3 separate regions of the Homo sapiens genome follow, and regions 1 and 3 are each linked to region 2. The links are contacts of gene promoters, found by promoter capture Hi-C in blood cells and fetal thymus (Javierre and others, 2016). All regions are on one chromosome and are shown on one strand. Each heading gives the region's core, a stretch centred on a gene start or on the middle of the fragment in contact. The rest is flanking DNA. Distances are from core to core; before and after follow the strand shown. Region 1 has its middle 33 kb from the start of SLC35G2. Region 2 holds the start of IL20RB-AS1 (IL20RB antisense RNA 1). Region 3 overlaps STAG1 (STAG1 cohesin complex component).

Evidence for each region. Contacts are between HindIII fragments. The CHiCAGO score rates a contact against its expected background, and 5 or more counts as called.
Region 1: a contact is called between a fragment that was not itself captured here and the fragment with the promoter of IL20RB-AS1 in region 2, in 6 of 17 cell types (non-activated CD4 T cells, naive CD8 T cells, endothelial precursors and 3 more). The highest score is 6.2, in non-activated CD4 T cells.
Region 3: a fragment that was not itself captured here is called in contact with the fragment with the promoter of IL20RB-AS1 in region 2 in 1 of 17 cell types (fetal thymus); the score reaches 5.2 in fetal thymus.

The regions. Positions count from the first base shown.
Region 1 is chr3:136,784,457-136,788,496 of GRCh38, forward strand. No RefSeq gene overlaps it. Among named protein-coding and RNA genes, the nearest start is that of SLC35G2, 33 kb to the right of the region's middle. The HindIII fragment of the contact is 1,504 bases long and covers 721-2,224 here.
Region 2 is chr3:136,979,408-136,983,600 of GRCh38, forward strand. It overlaps IL20RB-AS1 (IL20RB antisense RNA 1), which reads right to left and starts at 2,784. Exons shown (of 4, transcript NR_183729.1): 1 at 2,656-2,784; 2 at 111-443. IL20RB (interleukin 20 receptor subunit beta) reads left to right here. Exons shown (of 7, transcript NM_144717.4): 2 at 1,059-1,185; 3 at 2,753-2,943. The HindIII fragment of the contact is 2,087 bases long and covers 1,537-3,623 here.
Region 3 is chr3:136,739,395-136,743,285 of GRCh38, forward strand. All of the region lies in intron 1 of STAG1 (STAG1 cohesin complex component), which reads right to left. Among named protein-coding and RNA genes, the nearest start is that of STAG1, 11 kb to the right of the region's middle. The HindIII fragment of the contact is 855 bases long and covers 922-1,776 here.

The DNA of each region.
Region 1 (4,040 bases), core at 223-2,722, 200 kb before region 2:
TTTTTGTATTTTTAGTAGAGACGGGGTTTCACCGTGTTAGCCAGGATGGTCTCGATCTCCTGACCTCGTGATCCACCCACCTCGGCCTCCCAAAGTGCTGGGATTACAGGCGTGAGCCGCCGCGCCCGGCCAAACTGATGGATTCTAAAGGGAATTGGACATATTGAGGTGCAGAACAAACTGGTATGCAGAGAAAAGAACACTAATTAGAGTCACCGTCACCGGGACTCTGCCTCTCTATATTACTCTTCTTTTCTTCTCAGTTGGCTGTTCCCAAAACGGGCTCAAGCAGCTGCAGGCAGGCATTGTACTAATTTCACGGTGAGCAAAAGGAAAGATTATTTTCCCTCATGGTTCCAGAAGAAGTTGCAGAATTAAATCTCATTGTCTAAGATTAACTTGGTTGGGACACATGCAGTAGTGGATGTTTTGGCACTCCACTCAGATCCCTTTTATCAGCTGGTGCACCCCTTCCATTCTTTACCCTTTCCCCCACTCCCTGCAGCTATTTTGAGGCTGTGGCCAGCAGTTTAAACCTGTGACCTTGGTTTATGAGAGGTGTTTTAGGTTGTCAAAAGCCTCCTAGCCTAGGGATGCCGGGGAAGTTACACTGTCTCAATATATAGACTAATAACTAATAGATATGGAGTTTCTTAACAGGCTAACCTCCTTGCTTCAAGGCAGAAACAACTCTGTAGTGTAATTTGTGTTCCAGAGGCAAGCTTCCCTCTCCACACACAAAACCAGACCAAGACTAGATTTTACCTGACATCAGGTCGTTACTTGGCTCCTTCTCCTTCTCTATCTTGCTCCCTTACAGGTTTCTCTAAGAGCATTCCCTGCCTTTCTTACATCTGAATCCTTGCCTCAGGCTCTGCTTCTAGGGAACTTCATCCAAGACACATTTCTGAACCAGTCATTGAAGGAGTGGCTAAGTGTTTCTTAGGGACAAACCAGGTAATATGCCCATCTACACCTCATAAACCTGAATTACTGAATGTTTCATGGAGGACTTTGGTTTGTTTAGTACTATAACCCCAATATTCAAAATAATTCATTTACTTGTATTACGAAAATAAATCAAGGAAAGAATGGACTGAGTGTGTGTGTGTTTGAATCCTTGAAATGGAAGAAATATAGTGCCAACAAGGGACCTGAGTGAGTGCAGCCCAGCCTGAATTTACGACGTGCAGCCAAAACGGCTGCTCTCAGCTTGCATGTATGTGGCCAAGAGGCAGAGCTGATAGGTCAGCACAGAAGCTGGCCCTCATCCTGTCATCCTGTCTCAATTTCTTTTTTCTTTTTTTCTTTTTCTTTTTTGAGATGGAGTCTCATTCTGTTACCCAGGCTGAAGTGTAGTGGCATGATCTTGGCTCACTGCAACCTCAACCTCCATCTAAGGCAGTGATTCTCCTGCCTTAGCCTCCCTAGTTAGTAGCTGGGATTACAGGTGCCCGCCACCATGCCAAGCAAATTTTTGTATTTTTAGTGGAGATGGGGTTTCACCATGTTGGCCAGGTTGGTCTCAAACTTCTGACCTCAAGTGATCTGCCTGCCTGTGCTTCCCAATGTGCTGGGATTACAGTCATGATAAACTTATTTTATTTTATTTATTTATTTTTGTGTGTGTGTGTGACAGAGTTTTACTCTGTTGCCCAGGCTGGAGAGCAGTGGCACGATCTTGGCTCACTGCAACCTCTGCCTCCCAGGTTCAAGCAATTCTCTTGTCTCAGCCTCCTGAATAACTGGGACTACAGACGCATGCCACCACACCTGGCTAATTTTTGTAGTTTTTTAGATACAAAAAAAGAGATGGGATTTCACTGTGTTGGCCAGACTGGTCTCGAATGCCTGACCTCAAGTGATCTGCCTGCCTCAGCCTCCCGAAGTGCTGGGAATTACAGGAGTGAGCCACTGCGCCCTGCCCGATTTTGTTTTGAATGGAACATGTGATCACTCTGATATTCAAAGGAGTAGTAGCAGAGAGCACAGGACTTGGTGCCCTCCAAAGCCTATGGGAGTCTTGAAGGATATTCCAAATGTGGAAAAAAAATATTTTTTTCCCAAGAAAATTTGTGCGTGTGAAAGAGTGTGTGTGTGTGTGTGTGTGTGTGTGTGTGTGTGTGTATGACTGTTACCAGAAGAAAGGGGATTGAATGTAGGAATGTGGAATGATAACTATGCACTACAACGATAAACAAGCGGAACTGAACTTAAAAACCAAAGCTTTCACTCTGCCAAAGACCAAATTTTTGTTAATGACCATACATGCCAAGCATTTGTGATTCTAAGCACTGCTTTCACTTTAGGATTAAAAAAATATCCTAGGAAGTGTGTTTGTTGCTTATTTGTTATCTGGTGAGTAATGGAATTACTTCAAGTAGATAATGAAAATCCGCTTTTTATTTAATATAAGAATTGCAGAGAGCAGAAACTAAAATCCTGTAAACAATTTCTTGCTGAGTCATTCACCCTTGCTCAAGACAAGCTTTCACTTTGCACTGAATTTTAATGTGATGTTTCTTCATCTTCCCCCACCTTCTGTACCATAGTCAGCTAGTCAGTAATTTCTCTTTGACCAGAGTGATACTGTCCTCCCAGAATGGTCAGGCAGACAGCTGAGACATTTCTAGGGATCTCCATACTTTTTCACTTCCAAGGATCCATTCATGATCTTTCTCCCAAGGATCCATGGGTGTAAGACCTCATTGCAACACAAACTATGCGTCTGGAAAATAATTAATTTGTGTCCTCAAAATTTATTAATTGTAGTAACCATGCTGGTATAATTCTAGCACAAACTAAAGCAGTTTTTTAGTTACTTTTAAAAGCACTCTCATGAGTTAAAGCGGGATTTCTATCAAGCTTTCTGAAATAATGAAAATGTTGGAAGTCATTAAATAACTTTATTCCAGGGAGATATATGTTTGCAAAGATAATTCTGGTTTGGGTAGGAGAAAAGCCAAGTCAGGGAGATCTGCCAGAAGACTGTTTTGGTAGTCCAAAGAGAGAGAGATTTGTTAATAAAGAGAAGCATGAGAAATGCCCTTTGGAGTAAAATTGACTACCTCAGAGTGTCTAGCTTCACTGTGCTAAATAAGGCAGGACCTGCTGTGCAGAGACCAAAACTAACAAGTCTCTCAGAACCACTGTACTCAGCATCTCCCCTGAACAGTCTGTGTAGCTGTCACCAGGTGGCACGTGGTAGGAATCTGGGTCATGCTGTGTAACCTTCCTGGTTAGGCCACGAAGAAGTGAGAGAAGTGCAGTCCATATGATTTGGTCCATAAATACAAAACTTCTCCTTGATATGAATTAACCAACTACTAACAGGGCCAAATGATAACATTCATGAGCTTTGGGCAGTTTTGAATCTGTGGGCCCTTCCCTCCATAATAAATATTAAAAATTATATTTTATAACTGCATTGGTATAAAGATGAATATAATCCATGCTGGTTTCTTTTTTTTTATTGTGGTAAAATATACATAACATTTCCCATTTTAACCATTTTTAACCATACAGTTCAGTGGCTTTAAGTACACTGGATTCTTTTTATATGTTTATTATTATTTATTTATTTTTATTTATTCTGATTTTAAAAGAAATTAAAATTAAAACATTCTGCAGGCCCTTAAAAGTATCTCGGTCCCTAGATACTGTGCTAGCTGTACCTAATGGATGAGTTGGCCATGACTATTAGATGGCAAAAAAAGGGCAAGAAAGAGCAAATTTGAAATGTACTCAAACTCATTTTACAGTTCACACACACAAAATGACATTCCAACTTGCTTTTCCTTTCTGCAGGGAGACATTAATCCTAGGAAGCAGTGTGTTTACTGGATGGAACACAGGACTATGGCACACTGAGATCAAGCATTATTTTTGTCCCATACTAGGTATGTATCATACTCAGCACAATGTGGAGCTCAGACAGGCCCATGCGAGGAGCCCAAGGGGGTCAGTGCCAGCAGACTCAGAAACAGCACCAGCTCCAGGCTAAGAGGTTGGGGCAGAGACTCCAGATGAAGGCCAGGACA
Region 2 (4,193 bases), core at 1,534-4,033:
CTCCAGCCCCACCCCCACTATGCTGTAGATGCTATCACTGCACTGTAACAGCAAAGGGAGGCAGGTGTTGGGCATTTAAACAGGAACATAGCAGAGAGTTCAGACTGTACCTTTGGGTGACATGTGAGGATGAAGTTTTTGGCTTTGTGACTGCCCAAAGTCCTTATGAGCAGGTTCAGCTTCATAGGCCTCTTTCATTCTCTACAAATCATAGTCCCACTGTGTGCATACTCTGGGCACACTGTGTCTGGGTACACTCGGGGCATACTTGTGTCCCAGACTGGCTCAGGGGCCTGCAGTCTTTCCGGGGTGGACTCACAGAGCTGGCTTGGTGTCCCACTTGAATGGACTCTCTCCACAGCAGATCTGAGCCTGTACTTCCCACCTGGCAACTGATGACCCATTTGGCCTTGTTGAGGGACATGAAACGATTGCTTTGGCATCTGAGGATGGCAGTAGCAGGAGAGGGAGGTGATGAGAATGTTGCAGTAGTCTGCATTGGTTTTCCATGAATGATTAAGAGGCTCACGTTTATGCAACTTGCTTAAAGCCACATAGTAAGTGGCAGAGTCACTGGATCCTAGCCAGTCTAACAGAAGAGTCATAAATAATGTGACTCAGTTTTCTCATTTGTACAATGGAAAAACTAATGGTCTTTACCTCCCAGTATGGTCATGAGAATTCAATAAGACAGTCATGTAACAATCCAGCACATGGTCTAGATAGAACATGGTAAGTATTAGATAAATATTAGTCATTATTATTATTAATATTGATATGTCATTTATCAACAAAGTCAGAATTATAATGGTGGTACCCAAAATTTAGTGTTAACATAAGCATGATAAAATTAGAGTTGTTTCTGGTTTATAAACATGTGAGGCTTTTTTTTTTTTGAGACAGAGTCTCATTCTGTTGTCTAGGCTGGAGTGCAGTGGTGCAATCTCAGCTTACTGCAACCTCCGCCAGTGAGGCCCTTCATTAGACACTAATTTGAAGCTATGGCATTCCCCCACTATGAGCCCACCTGTCAGCCAGGCTATCTGCCTTGATCCTAGATGAAGTGGCCATTCTGCCTGCCCCTCAGAACCTCTCTGTACTCTCAACCAACATGAAGCATCTCTTGATGTGGAGCCCAGTGATCGCGCCTGGAGAAACAGTGTACTATTCTGTCGAATACCAGGGGTGAGTTTTTTCTTTTAATAGTTCTTCTCCCTTAAGCAGAAGTTGGTTCCTGAAGGCATAGCCCTTCCTCCTGAGCCCAAGGTGGCTTTTTGAGTCCAGGGATAGATTATCCCCAAAGATCTACCCCCTCTGTCTGCATAGGCATTGAAAGAGTTGAAGAAGCAAGGGAAATTGTTCTGTGGATTTGACAGTGAACTCTCTGGGAAGATGAATGTGCATAACACATTTTGGTGGAGTTATTTTAAAAAGTGAATCAACTGTCCAATGGGTTTGACTCTGACTTGAGATGGATAAATCACTGGAGACTCAGATCCTTTAAGGGTGGAGGAGTCCTCACTTTTCCTGACTATAAGCTTATACCTAGAGCCAAAACGAACTATAATCCTAAAGGTCAGCTGGCCCTGGGGCTGAGCAGGCTCTAGTCTTCTCCAGGTGTTCAGGTGCTTGCAGCTATTGAATAGTGATAAGGACACAGAAATTGCTCCATATATTTCATTAACAATGAATACAGACTGAACACCTACATGTGTAGACATTCTTCTAGGCTCAGGGATACAGTTGACAAGGTTTCTGGATTTTGAGAGCTTACATCTAGAGGAGGATACAGATGATAAATATACTAGGCCAGCATTCTCTAGTATGGTAGCCACCAGCCACAGCTGGCTATTTAAATTTAAATTAAATTAAATTAAATTAAATTAAATTAAAATGTCTGTTTCCTGCCACACTAGTCACATTTTAGGTGTTCAATAGCCACATGTGGCCAGTGGTTACCATATTGAACAACATCGATTTAGAATATTTGCATCATCACAGAAAGTTTATTTTTGGAAAGCACTGCTCTAGGGAATTTTGGATAGTAATCAGTGCTAGGAGGAAGCTAAAAGGCTGATGCCATAGAGAGTTGACACTGAGGCTCCTTTATATTAGATGGCCTGGGATGGCCTCTCTGAGGAGGTGATATTTATGCCATATCTGAAGGACAAGAGGAGCCAGCCATGCGAACAGCAGGGGCAGAGCGTTTGAGATGGAGTGAACAGTTAGTCAAAGGTCCTAAGGCAAAAAGTGCTCAGCATTTTGGAGAAATGACCAATGTGGCAAGAATATCACGCTTCGGAGCAGAGTGAGAGAGAAGGCCAAAGCATCTTGTAAGACCACTGGCAAGAGTTTGGATCCCATTCTAAGTCCTGTAGGAAGCCATTAAGGAGAGAAACGTCACAATCTGCTGAGTGGTGAATGGTTTTGAGAATGGCAGGTGTCCAAGCTGGGAGATCACAGCAAGGCAAGGAATGACAGTGGCTGAGATTAGGGTGATGACCCTGGAGATGAAGAGATAAAAGAGATCCAGACACATTGATGTTTATGCCTAGCTTTCCCTATCTGGCAATAAAAGGAGTAAGGGACGATGGATGGTTGGTAGGGAGGAGAGTGGAGGAGCTAGGATAATGAGAAAGTACTTATTTTACTTACCTGTACAAAGTAGGTGAACGAAGTCAGTTACTTGCAACCATAACTGAGCCTGTGTCAGAGGGGCTGGTGTAACTCTGTGCCCTCCTCTCTTTGACAGGGAGTACGAGAGCCTGTACACGAGCCACATCTGGATCCCCAGCAGCTGGTGCTCACTCACTGAAGGTCCTGAGTGTGATGTCACTGATGACATCACGGCCACTGTGCCATACAACCTTCGTGTCAGGGCCACATTGGGCTCACAGACCTCAGCCTGGAGCATCCTGAAGCATCCCTTTAATAGAAACTCAAGTAAGGCACTTCTCTCCTTACACTCCCACCCCAACCAGCCCCTCCTTTAGGAACCATGTTCACCTAAACTTTCTAGACTCTTTTTAGCATCAGAATAGTCCTGCAAAGCCAGAGTATTGTGAACACAAACAACCCTTACTGGTATATTTGAAAAATTGCCAACTGCTTTCTACATGCTGCTCTCTGTCATGCCCTTTGACTACTCAAGTCATTCCTGACTGTCTGTGTCAGGGTGTGCAGGTGTTGGGGATGCTGACATTGGGAACCTGGAAGGAAAGCTGCTCTGGAAGTGAAGAGGTGGCACCAGGACTGCTGCTCCCTACTCTGATTGTGCCTCCATAAATTGTGCCTCCCACTTGAGGCCTCATTAACTGCATATTTACTGCCCACGTAAGCAGCTTTGTTGTGCAAGAGGATTTATACACTTAACAGAGCCACCAGAAAATTGCCCTTCTGTAATGACTTCTGTGGGAAATAAATAACTTTTCTTTTGGAGTAGTACCTGGAAAAGGATTGAGAAAGAAGTAATAGAGGAATCCAGATAGGTGGCCAAATGTGGCTGAGTACAAGCACTGGTCATTGTATAAAAGGACATGTGTGTTTGCGGAACAGGAGAGGCAAGGGCTGATGGGCAGGGGGTAGGGAAGCAGTTGATCATGTGGTGAAGGGCTTTGACACGAAGCTTGACCAAGTCAGTAGAGGGTAGCCAATGAAAGAGGAGAGGATCTAGACCAGGTCTATCTCTTTTTTTTTTTGATACGGAGTCTCACTCTGTCACCCAGGTTGGTGTGCAGTGGCGTGATCTCAGCTCACTGCAACCTCTGTCTCCTGGGTTCAAGTGATTCTCCTGCCTCAGCCTCCTGAGTAGCTGGGACTACAGGCGTGCACCACCATGCCTGGCTAATTTTTGTATTTTTAGTAGAGACAGGGTTTCACTATGTTTTCCAGGCTGGTCTGGAACTCCTGACCTCAAGTCATCTGCCCACTTCGGCCTCCCAAAGTGCTGGGATTACAGGCATGAGCCATGGCGCCCGGCCGACCAGGTCTATCTTACAAAGCAACACTCTGGCTGCTGTGTGGAAAGTGAACCAGAGTAGGGCAAGCCTGCAGGACAGGGGAAGAGTGAGGAGGGGGTTGTAATACTCCTACTGATCCCAAGAGTTTGGAAGGGGATGGGAAGGAGATGATGAATCCAAGAAACATGGCTGATTTAGAAAGGACAGAGCTTAGGAATCAAGTTTGTGGGGACA
Region 3 (3,891 bases), core at 99-2,598, 240 kb before region 2:
CTGTGGTCCCAGGTACTCCCAGCTAGTTGGGAGGATGAGGTGAGAGGTTGAGGCTGCAGTGAGCCGTGATCACGTCACAGCACTCCAGCATGGGGCAACAGACTCCGTCAAAAAAAAAAAAAAAAGAAAAAAAAAAAAAGAAAGGCTAGGTGTGGTGGCTGACACCTGTAATCCCAGCACTTTTGGGAGGTCAAGGCAGAGGATTGCCTGAGGTCAGGAGTTCGAGACCAGCCTGGCCAACATAGTGAAACCCCATCTCTACTAAAAATACAAAAAAAAATTAGCCAGATGTGGTGGCAGGCACCTGTAGTCCCAGCTACTCGAGAGGCTGAGGCAGGAGAATCACTTGAACCTAGGAGGCAGAGGTTGCAGTGAGCCGAGATCGCGCCACTGCACTCCATCCTGGGCAACAAGAGCAAGACTTCATCTCAAAAAAAATAATAATTATATACATATATACACACACACACATACACACATATATATTACACAGGATACTGTGCCTTATAAACACTGCCACTTACTAAACCTTATGACGCCAACAATAAATGCAACGGGATAGATACAGAGGATAAAGATTGGCTGAAGTTATCTGTAAAGATTTCACACAGATTCCACATCTTACTCTGCGTTTGCTTTTTCTTTTCTTTGTGAACTATATCAATTATACAGTACATTATGTAAAATTCTAAATAACAGTTTAAAGAATTTTAAAGCACGGTGGCAGGCACCTGTAATCTCAGCTACTCGGGAGGCTGAGGCACAAGAATCGCTTGAGGCGGAGGTTTCAGTGAGCCAAGATCACACCACTGCACTCCAGCCCGGGCAACAAAGCGAGATTCCATCTCAAAAAAAAGAGAGAATTTTAACGCAAACACTCCATGTAATTATTACTAAGGTCAAGAAATAGACTACTACAAAAGCTTCTCCATAATATGTCCCTCCCTAATTACAAACTTGGGAAATTTAATCCAAGCCTCAGTTCCTCACCAGTAAAAGGGGGATAACACCAACATAACAATAACTACCCCACAGGGTTATTGTAAAATGTTTATTGGCATATAGTAAATGCTCAATGTTCTTTTTTGCTTTTGTTCTTTTTTTGAGACAGAGTCTCACTTTGTCACCCAGGCTGGAGTGTAGTGGCGCAATCTCAGCTCACTACAACCTTGACCTCCTGGGCTCAAACTATCCTCTGCCTCAGCCCCCCAAGTAGCTGGGACTACAGGTGCGCACTACCACACCTAACTAATTTTTTGTATTTTTTGTAGACACAGGGTTTCACTATGTTGCCCAGGCTTGTCTGAAACTCCTGAACTCAAGTGATCGCCCGCCCCAGCCTCCAAAAGGGCTAGGATTACAGGTGGAAGCCACTATGCCTAGCCAAGCGTTTTCTTACACACACACATATTCACCAGAACAAAGACGTGGGGAAAGACAGGATACGAGTATGTAATCTAATTTGGTGATAACATATAACCATAGAGAAGTACAATGAAGAGATAAAGCTGGAAAGCTAGGTTGTAGCCATGTAAGAAACAAAAGAAAAACTTAAGCAAATAACAAAAGGGAAACTGAGAAAATTCACTAGACAGTTTTGGAAGACAACTCTCCATGGAGTCTCTTGATTTTCTGCCTGTCTTGAGAAGAGAAGCACTGGAAGCCTTTGTTCCAATCTTTTCAGGATAGTTATATAGTGAAGGGTCCTGGAAGAAAGACATGTCCCAGAGCAAAAAGCGTATTTATGACCCATTATAAAAGATCTGAGTTTCTCTAAGCTTGGGATTTCACTACTTGTGCAGGTTTCACCTGGACCTCTTCCCAATGACCTATGCAAACTGGAGCTCAGAAATCTGATGCAAATGCTGACTGTCTGGCTACTGACACAGTGCATCGTTCTTCATCTATGACCAAGTCATTTCAATGACTTCTACCATAAGCCATTAAACTATGCCAAGTTAACTTGTCAGCCTATAAATAGGGTAAAACTTCAAACTCTTCATAGTTCTTGACAGACATTAGCATATGATCAATGATTATTATAACTGAAAGATTCCACTTCCATGTTGTTGGAAGGAATTTTTTTTTTTGGAGATGGAGTTTTGCTCTTGTTGCCCAGGCTGGAGTGCGATGTCGCGATCTCAGCTCACCACAACCTCCACCTCCCGGGTTCAAGCGATTCTCCTGCCTCAGCCTTTTAAGTAGCTGGGATTACAGGCGCCCACCACAATGCCCGGCTAATTTTGTATTTTTAGTAGAGATGGGGTTTCTCCACGTTGGTCACGCTGGTCTTGAACTCTTGACCTCAGATGATCCGCCTGCCTCGGCCTCCCAAAGTGCTGGGATTACAGGCATGAGTCACTGTGCCTGGCCAGGAATTTTTTAAAAAGCAATACTCGACTATATACTACCATCAAAAGCAATTTAAATATAATGAAGAGTTTTGGGTAAATAGGTAGAAAAAGATATATTATGGAAACAGTAAGCTCAAGATCGCTGGAGTGGCTATATTAACATCAAATAAAGCAGACTTCAAGGAAAAGATTATTACCAGAAACAGAGAGACATTTCATCACAATAAAAAGGTCAATTTGTCAAAACAACATAATAATCATAAGTTGTACATGTCTTACAACAGAGCTTCAAAATGAGTGAGAAAAACTTGACAGAATTAAGGGAAAAACAGATAATTCCACAGTCATAGTTGGATATTTTAACTTTCTTCTTGGCAGCTGATAGAATGAGACAAAACAACAACAACAAAAAACAACAACAAATACATAGATTATTTGAAAAGTGCTATTAAAACACCTTAACCTAATTGATAGTTACAGAATACTACACCCAACAACTGCAAAACACACTTTCAAGTATAAAAGATACATTAACCAAGATGGACCATATGCTGGCCCATAAAATAAGTTTCAATAAATTTTAAAGGATTAAAATCATAAAGATATGACTCAAAATGAAACTAAGTTAGAAATCAGTAATAAGTTATCTAGAATAATCCCAAATATTGAAAATTAAACAACAAGGCTGGGCACGGTGGCTCATGCCTATAATCTGAGCACTTTGGGAGGCTGAGGCAGGCGGATCCTTGAAGTCAGGAGTTCAAGACTAGCCTAGCTAACATGGCAAAACCCCGTCTCCACTAAAAAAATACAAAAATTAGCTGGGTGTGGTGGTGTGCGCCTGTAATCCCAGCTACTGTGGAGACTGAGACAGGAGAATCACCTGAACCTGGAAGGTGGAGGTTTCAGTGAGCAGAGATTGCGCCACTGCACTCCAGTCTGGGTGACAGAGCAAGACTCCATCTCAAAAAAAAAAAAAAGAAAAGAAAATTAAACCACACACTTCTAAGTAATCCATGGGTAAAAGAAGATATCACAAATTAAAAAGAATGTCAAGGTAAATTATAAACATAAAACACATCAAAGTCTGAGTAATGTAGCAGTGCTTAGAGAAAAATATATAGCTTTAAATGTATTTATTAGAAAACAAAAAGTGCCTAAAATCTATAACCTAAAATTTCACTTTAAAAGGCTGGAAAGAAAGCAAAGCAGAAGAAAATTTTAAAAAGCAGAAACCAATGAGATACTAAAGACAAATACTGACAATTACCTCAGTTGGTTATTTGAAAAAATAACCGATAAATCACTAGACTGGTCAAGATAAAAAGAACATACTGGCCAGATGCAGTGGCTCACGCCTGTAATCCTAACACTTTGGGAGGCCGAGAAGGGTGAACAGCTTGAGGCCAGGAATTCAAAACCAGTATGGCCAACATAGTGAAACCCTGTCTCTACTAAAAATACAAAAAATTAGTCAGGCGTAGTGGAGGGCACCTGTAATCCCAGCTACTCGGGAGGCTGAGGCAGGAGAATCAGT